3 separate regions of the Homo sapiens genome follow, and regions 1 and 2 are each linked to region 3. Evidence: promoter capture Hi-C in human tissues and cell types (Jung and others, 2019). All regions are on one chromosome and are shown on one strand. Each heading gives the region's core, a stretch centred on a gene start or on the middle of the fragment in contact. The rest is flanking DNA. Distances are from core to core; before and after follow the strand shown. Region 1 holds the start of C11orf86 (chromosome 11 open reading frame 86). Region 2 overlaps RIN1 (Ras and Rab interactor 1). Region 3 holds the start of RBM14 (RNA binding motif protein 14).

Evidence for each region. Contacts are between HindIII fragments. The study calls those that stand out against the background at their distance.
Region 1: the fragment with the promoter of C11orf86 here is called in contact with the fragment with the promoter of RBM14 in region 3 in 3 of the 25 tissues and cell types used here (adrenal gland, dorsolateral prefrontal cortex and heart left ventricle).
Region 2: a fragment that was not itself captured here is called in contact with the fragment with the promoter of RBM14 in region 3 in 1 of the 25 tissues and cell types used here (thymus).

Annotation. Positions count from the first base shown.
Region 1 is chr11:66,973,991-66,976,690 of GRCh38, reverse strand. C11orf86 (chromosome 11 open reading frame 86) reads right to left here and starts at 1,387. Exons shown (of 2, transcript NM_001353554.2): 1 at 1,053-1,387; 2 at 1-514. The coding sequence starts at 1,328. The coding sequence ends at 440. RefSeq lists an enhancer at 203-706. The HindIII fragment of the contact is 14,679 bases long and covers 1-2,700 here.
Region 2 is chr11:66,329,894-66,332,593 of GRCh38, reverse strand. It overlaps RIN1 (Ras and Rab interactor 1), which reads left to right. Exons shown (of 10, transcript NM_004292.3): 10 at 1-2,353. The coding sequence ends at 318. Among named protein-coding and RNA genes, the nearest start is that of RIN1, 5.2 kb to the left of the region's middle. The HindIII fragment of the contact is 6,220 bases long and covers 1-2,700 here.
Region 3 is chr11:66,615,208-66,617,907 of GRCh38, reverse strand. RBM14 (RNA binding motif protein 14) reads right to left here and starts at 1,278. Exons shown (of 3, transcript NM_006328.4): 1 at 851-1,278. The coding sequence starts at 1,187. RBM14-RBM4 (RBM14-RBM4 readthrough) reads right to left here and starts at 1,278. Exons shown (of 2, transcript NM_001198846.2): 1 at 851-1,278. The coding sequence starts at 1,187. RefSeq lists enhancers at 1,033-1,262, 395-1,328, 1,693-1,802. The HindIII fragment of the contact is 10,275 bases long and covers 1-2,700 here.

The DNA of each region.
Region 1 (2,700 bases), core at 138-2,637, 360 kb before region 3:
TGGCCCAGTGACCAGGCAACGTCCGTGAGCCTCTCGGCCATGGGTCTGGCTTCATCAAGCTCCGTCCTGGAAGTTGACAGCTGGTCGTGTGGGGCAGGAGCGTCCACAGCCCCCATTCCGGGCAGGCTTCTTCTAAACCTTCATAGAATCATAGTCCAAGGCCCCTACCCAAGCCCAGAGGGCAGACAGCTGAGCCCCCTTCTTTTTGACCCTGCTGGGATCTTCAAAGAGAGCTAGTGCTGGAGTGGAAGGGCCAGAGCTAAGAGTGGCAGCCACGTGGCGACTCCAGTGAGCTGGTGGCAGAAGCCTCCTAGGGCCACCCAGCCAAAGTCCAGAGAGCTGTGAAGAGGTAGGTCAGCAGACACGGTGGGCTGGTCCAGGCACAGCAAGGGGGCCACGATGGCTTCCAGCATCTTTAGCTGATGGTGCCCAGTGTGGGCTACGGGGAGGCCGGCTGACTCAGAGTCACGCTGGGGAAGATGGCGACAAAGCTCTCCCACCTTCTTCTTACCTGCTGGAAGACAGAGGTGGGGGAGGTCCCATGGGCTGAGTGGTGGGCTTAGATGTTGTTCCACCCATAGCCACGAGGTGGGGGTAGACCCCAGGTAGAGAAGCACTGCTCATTGGAGACCCTGTCTCTTAGAGGAGGGAGCCTGCAGCCCCCCACAAAGGGGTCCAGATCTCCCCTTTTTCTCTGGGGTGAGAGGGTCACACAGTGTACTTCCCAGGAAGTTGCACTGGCTGATCTCCTTGCCTCCTGCTCTATTCCCCCATCCAGCATACTATCAATCAGCTAAAAACAGCGCTTACCATATCACCCTCCTCCTCTAAAACCTTCAGTGGCTCCCCAGTGCCTGTGGGATAAATCCCAAATGCCTTCAGGGCCCTCTGAAACGTGGCTCTGGGGTGTCTCTCTCTGCACCCTCATCTCCAGGCAGCTCGGTTGTCATCTTGGTACACAGCCTGGGCTGGCTCTGTCTCTGAACCTTTCCTGCCCTGGAATCCCTGCCCACCTGCTGTGGTACCCTCCATCCTTCAGCCCACAGCCATACCTGTTGGTACCGCCTCAGCCACCACCGGCTGCCTCTTCGCTGGGCTTGGATCAGCTGCTCTGTGTCCCCCAGGCTCCCCGGCACCCGCTCCTGGGCAGTGGCATCTGGCCCTTCTGTGCCTCTCTCGAGGCCCTGGGACCTGGACTTCTCTTGCCCCTGTCTGAGGCTTAGCGCCCTGCGGAGTTGGCCCTCCTGGGGCCTCCCCCAGGGCTCCTGCAGCTTTCCATAGGAGGGTCGGGGCTCTCGCAAGGACTGACTTCGCAGCCCTGTTCCCATGGCTCCGGAGGCTGCAGGCACAGGACTGCTCCGGCCCCTCAGCAAGACACTGGCCCTCTGAGGTGGCCCAGTGCCTCCACCCATCTGACAAGAGATCACTGGGGGCAAAGGTTGGTGCTGCCAAGGTGGCTTTCATAAATCAAAGGGCAGGCCACAGGGCCAAGCATCCCTGAGTCACCTCACCACTGCCTCCCCACCTTCTGGGTCAAGGAGTGAAGGCCAAGGGGAGGAAATTGCCACTCCCTCCTTCACCTATCCTTCCCCCCTCCCCCTCCCCTCCCCCTCCCCTCCTCTCCCCCCTCCCTCCTCCCCCATCCTCCCCCCTCCTTCTCCCCTCCCCTCCCCCTTCCTTCCCCTCCCCTCTCCCTCCCCCCTCCTCCTTCTCCTCCTTCTCCTCTAGGCAGCTTCCCTGACTACCTCATCCCTGAAGAGTTTGTTCTCCTCTGAATCTCTATGGCCCCGGCATCCATTGACACTGAGCACCATGGCTTAACAACCAAACAGAGACAGCCTTTTAAGAATTGGGCCAGGCCCGGTGGCTCACGCCTGTAATCCTAGCACTTTGAGAGGCCGAGGCAGGCAGATTGCCTGAGATCAGGAGTTCCAGACCAGCCTTGCCAACATGGTAAAACCCCGTCTCTACTAAAAATACAAAAAATTAGCTGGGCATGGTGGCGGGCGCCTGTAATCCCAGCTACTCAGGAGGCTGAGGCAGGAGAATCACTTGAACCCAGAAGGCGGAGGTTGCAGTGAGCCGAGATTGTGCCACTGCACCCAACCTGGGTGACAGAGCAAGACTGCGTCTCAAAAAGAAATATATTTTTCAAAAAAGCATCAGTATGGCTCCAAGCTAGAACAATCACATTCACAAAGACAGCAAGGAGGATGGCCGTTGCCAGGCACTGGGGGAGGGAGGAATGAAGAATTTAATGGCTGTAAATTTTCAGATTTCATAAGATGAAGAGTTCCAGAGATTGGTTGCACAACAATGGTTGAAATGGTAAACTTTATGGTATATGTGTTATACAATACTGGAGAATTTCTTTTTTTTTTTTTTTTTTTTTAAGAAACAGAAGGAAACAGGACGGCTCCAGGCTAGGAGTCAGGAGGCCTGGATTTTTTCCAGGCCCAGCGCTGCCCCTAATGTCCCAGCAGCACAGCACTATCCTTGAGCACTCAAGCTCTGAGGACCAACTGCCTCTGGGTAAACTGTAGCTTCATTCCTTGCAGCCTTGTGACCTTGGGCACATTTTTCTCCTTCATTCGTAAGAGGGACAAATAACTTGGGTAATTGTTGTGCGTATTAAATGTGGTCCACAGGGCTTGGCACACAGCAAGCCCTCGAACAAAGTGAGTTGGTGGTTGTATTTGT
Region 2 (2,700 bases), core at 78-2,577, 290 kb after region 3:
CAGGGCTACCACCGCCTGCCCCCTGGGGCCCTGGCCCACAGGCTGCCCACCACTGGCTACCTCGTCTACCGCCGGGCGGAGTGGCCTGAGACCCAGGGGGCTGTGACAGAGGAGGAGGGCAGTGGGCAGTCAGAGGCAAGAAGCAGAGGGGAGGAGCAAGGGTGCCAGGGAGATGGGGATGCTGGGGTCAAAGCCAGCCCCAGGGACATTCGGGAACAGTCTGAGACAACTGCTGAAGGGGGCCAGGGTCAAGCCCAGGAAGGCCCTGCTCAGCCAGGGGAACCAGAGGCAGAGGGAAGCCGGGCAGCAGAGGAGTAGCTTGAAGTGGCCAGAAGGGTCATTCGGGGCGGGAGACCCTGAGCCTGCTGAGAAATCCTTTTAGCGCCAGCAAGCCCCACCCAGGGCCCTGTCCTGTGTCTGCCACCACCTTTGTCTGATACTTGTTTCCAGGGAAGCTGGGGGAACTGCCACATCTGAGGAACTGGAATAAAGATGAGGGGGCTTCGGGGGCCCCCAGACTGTGTGCCCAAGGCCCCTTGCCTCTTGTTCTTCTCCCCCAGCTGAGGGTGAGCCAGCCTGCAATGAGGGTGTGCCAAGTGGGGGCGAATCCGACAGATGCCCAACCTCTGACGTGGGGAGGGTGACGGTCTCAGCTCCTTTTACCCTTCCCCTCATGGGCATGGCTGAGGCAGGGCTCCACCCAAGTATCTCCCACCAGGCTGGGACTTCCAGACCCTAAAAGGTTCCAATGGCTCTTAGGTGTCAGGAGGATTTAGAGAGGCCACAGAACAGCAGCAAAGGCTTGGGGCCCACCCCTGTCCTGGACACCAGAAGGACCTGCACCTGCAAGCCTCAGTACTCTCATCTGTAAAGTGGGGACACTATTGCTGCCCTGCTCGGCTCCCAGAAGTGTCCCAGTGATCAAAATGGGTGATTTTGCTACAAGCAGAGCTCATGGCAGAAAGGGAGGGAGAGAGCTGGGCTGCTAACTCTCTCCCGGAGTCCGCTCTCTGCCAGACAGGGCTCCCACCTGCTGATGCCCAGTTCAGGGAGGTTATTCCCCTGGAAATCAGGCCCTGGGGAGAAAGTACCCAAGTTACAGTCTCTCCCCAAGATTTGGAGTCCTCCCAGGCCCTCCAGCATCTCTGGGGAGATCCACCAGCTGGCAGATAAGCTTCCAGAATGGAGAGGGGGCTCAGAAACCATGCTCTCTGCACTAAACTCTTGGCCCTCACAAAAGCTTTACTTGGCCATGACTTGTTGGGCCCACTGAGGGTCAGGAAAGTGACTCCCAGGATGTCATATAGCAAGTCCTTAAGGGTTCCCCCGCCCAAACCAGGGCATCAGGTTCCAACTCCACCCTCCATTCTAAGCCACCCACAAAGGCCGGGGCAGCCCCCAAGGAAGCCCAGAGCAGGCAGCAAATCCAAACAAGGAAAAGTGCCGACCACCAACCACGAGGGGGTGTGCACGGCCCGGGAATCTGCCGAGAGGGTGACCACCCAGGGGTGAGGGCGCCTCCAAGGCTGCAGCAGCAGAGGGGGTCCCGGGCCTTGCAGTCCAGCAGCATCAGGCAACCTGGGGACAGCGCAGGGGCCAAGGCCACTGGCCCCCAGGTCCCTTAGATTCTGGGGTCTGGGTAAGGCCAGCCTCTTGGGGGCCATCCCCAGGAAGGAAGGAATTGTCCCCTTATGGAGGATGACCCCAGAGGCTCTCTCCTCGGGCACTGAGCACAGAGGGGACGTCAGCCCAAATGTCAGACATGACAACTGGGAGGTAGAAATCGTGGACATTGGCTTTTTGGGTTTTTTTGTTTGTTTGTTTGTTTGAGATGGAGTTTTGCTCTGTCGCTCTGGCTAAAGTGCAGTGGTGCCATCTCGGCTCACAGCAACCTTCGCCTCCCAGTTCAAGTGATTCTCCTGCCTCAGCCTCCCGAGTAGCTGGGACTACAGGTGTGCACCACCACACCTGGCTAATTTTTGTGTTACTAGTAGAGACGGGGTTTCCCCATGTTGGCCAGGCTGGTCTCAAACTCCCGACCTCAGGTGATCCGCCCGCCTTGGCCTCCCAAAGTACTGGGATTACAGGCGTGAGCTACCACACCCAGCCAGACATTGACTTTCAGATGAGCAGTCCAGATACAGCCCAGTTGCACGGCTCCCATTTTTTTTGTCACTAGGCCACCAGCAGCTCTTCCCTCCCCACTTCCACGCCCTCCCAAGGTTCTCGCTGATAGGAAGTGTCCCGTTGGCTCTTCTATTCCCCTCCCTGTTTCACCACTCACCCCTAGTGCCTCACACAGTCCAATGCTGAGCACAAATGCCATAGGTGTTCAATAAATGTTGTTCACTGATTGGAGTTTGATAACCAGGAGTGAGGGACAGTGAGGCAGAAACCTGGGGAGTATAAGGGAGGACTCGGTTCTGGGAATCAAACACGGGATGTGTCAAGCTCAGTCCCAGAGGAAGGACCTGGAATGTTTGTAGAGGGTGCTCGGAGGATCCCAGGGGCCGGATGTACAACTGGCCTCATGGGAATGAGGCTCTGGGGCCTCTACAAGCCCTTCCCACCCTTGCCAGGCTCAGCATGACCTGACCCCCTCCCTGCCCTCCCCAGTGATGGGGCACCACAGGGAGCTGCTGCCTGGGTCTTGTGGTTTTTCTTCTCAAGAAACTCTGGGCTGGGCCTGGTGGCTCACGC
Region 3 (2,700 bases), core at 29-2,528:
GCCAGAGTATGCCCCCCTGCAAAGTCACCAAGCTTATAAAAGAATGACACTGCCCTAGGGCACTGGCTTGGCATGTAAAGACTACGCAGAAGGGGACTTCATAAAACAAGCTTTCTTGCACATGCAAAAGGCTGGGGTTTCCAGTTGACAGATGTAAAATCGAGCCCAAAGAAAAACCCCAAGTTTGAGGGAGGAGAAAAGCACAGAGCTGCCACGCCTAACCTACCTAATATTGAAAGGCCAAAGTGATTCGGAAGGGGCCCCTCTCGTACCCACGTGTAACTGTGCCCATGAGTAGACCCATGCCAGACAAGACTAAAAGACCCCAGCCCGAGAAACGTCCAAGGGCCCCGTTACCTTCCGCTTGAGCACATTCATCGGGAGGGAACAGGAGGGCGGCCTTGGGGCGTCAGCCCCCACCTTTTCCCTCTTCCCTTGCTCTGACCGACGTCTGGAGAGGAAGTGGGGAAGTGGAGAAATCTTCCCCGCTTCATGATCCGGCTTGTGCCCGTCACTTCCCAATTTCCGCTGGGTGCCAGGCCCAGGAGACCAGGAGAAGGCGCGCCCCCGGAACACTCGCAAGGCTCTCAGGCGCGTCCCCGGCCCCGTAGCTTGGCTCGCAGTGGCCGCCGCACCCACCCAGAGCCGCTTCCTCCTACTTGGTGGACGGTTCCTGGACCGCAGGGGAGGAGGGTGGCTCTACCCAACGCGCCCCCAACACCTCCGACCTGCTCCCGCGCACTTCCCCACCCCTCCCAACCGCGCAGTGACCGACCCCCGGGTAAGGGGCGTGGCTAACAGGCAGAGTGCCCCGAGCGCGCCCCCGCCCCCGAGCGCGCCTCCGCGTTACCTTTCACCACGTCACACTCGATGACGCGTCCGCGGCGCTCGAAGAGGCTGCGCAGTTCCTGGCTCGTGCATGCAGCCGACACATTGCCCACGAAAATCTTCCAAGTATTAAGAGGCCTTGGGCGCGACATCTCCACCACGAGCGCGCGCCCCGGCCGCAGCTCGTGGCCGTGCAGGGCTTCGATGGCGCGCAGCGCGCCCGCGTTCTCGCGCATGTGCACGAAGGCGAACTGTTTCATGACGGCGCAGCTCATGACCGTGCCGTAGGGCGCAAAGAGGGCTGCCAGCTCCTCCGGAGTCGTATCCGCCCCGTCGACGTTGCCCACGAATATCTTCATTTTGTCGCCGCAGCCACCTTCCTGGAGAGCCCGGACCTCTCCTCCAGCGACAGGCAAGACGTCCGAACGACCGGCAGTCCTCCTCAGGAATGGCTGGCGACCGAGAACCCCGCCGCGCAGGCGCCCTGGCCTAGCCAATGGGGACTCGCATCCCGCGCGTCCAGCGACCAATCAGAAACGCTGAGGGAAGATGTGCTCAGGCACAGCCAATCCCAGAGGGCCTAGAGCCCGCTCGTTAGCTGAGGGGGTGGGAAAGGGACGACCAACCGCCACAGCCCGTGGCGGGAGAGGGGGTTGGGAAGAAGAGGGAGGGCTGAAGAGAGGAGAACGCGCGCGAGCGGCGCCGGCGGCAGAGAGGCCTAGTCTGTAAGGCGGTCTCTGGCCCGGGTGGGGCTGGGACCGGCGGGCTCCCAGGAAAACTTTGTACAATTGGAAGTCAGGGCTCCTCCCATTCTGGAAGCCCTGTCCAAACCCGCGCCTGGGGGTTGCCGCGTGAGTGTACGGGGGAAGGCCGGGCCTGGCGGGAGAAACCAGGACAGGCGCCTTGAGTCGGCAAACGGCTCCCAGGACTGTGCTGAGCACCGCGAGGGGACCTGAGGCAGGCCCCGGAGAAGCCCTCGTGCCATTAATTGATTCTTTGGAAACATTCCCTGGGGTTGCTGAGGTCCTGGCAGCCGGTGAAAAATCAAAGGCCTCTGCCCTGATGGAATTCCCAGTCAAGAAATAATGGAATGACGTTATTGTATGTTGAAGGTTTTCATAATAAACAGTTTAATAAACGAGAAAATTAATTCTGCAGGAAGCAAAAGTTGAGCCTTAAAAAAAATTTTAGTCCGGGAGCGGTGGCTCACGCCTGTAATTCCAGCACTTTGGGAGACCAAGGCAAGCAGATCACCGGAGGTCAGGAGTTCAGGACCAGCCTGGCCAAAATGGTGAAACCCCGTCTCTACTAAAAATACAAAATTAGCCGGGTGTGGTGGTGCGCGCCTGTAATCCCAGCTACTTGGGAGGCTGAGGCAGGAGAATCACTTGAACCCGGAAGGCGGAGGTTGCAGTGAGCCAAGATCACGCCACTGCACTCCAGCATGGGCGACAGTGAGATTCCGTCTCAAAAATTTTTTTAAACAGATTTGAGTATGTAAATAAGATTGTTGCATGGCAGACAACATCAAAAACATAGACATGTGACAAACTCAGGGAAATATTTGCCTACGTGTTCAGTCAACAAATAGCACCTACCATGTGGACACCACCAAGAATATAGCAGTGAACAAAAAAAAATGACAGAAATCCCAACCTTCTTGGATCTTATGGTGGGGAGAAACAGGCAAGAAATAAGTAAAACATAAGCGTGTTAGATGGTGATGAGGACTTGGAGTAATCAAGGGAACTAAGCCATCCTCTGAGGGAAGATCATGCCGGCCAGAAAGTACAAGTCAAAGAGTGCTGGGGCAGAAGCAAATCTGGTTCAAGGAAGAGTCAAGAGCCAGTATGGGCCAGGCCCGGTGGCTCA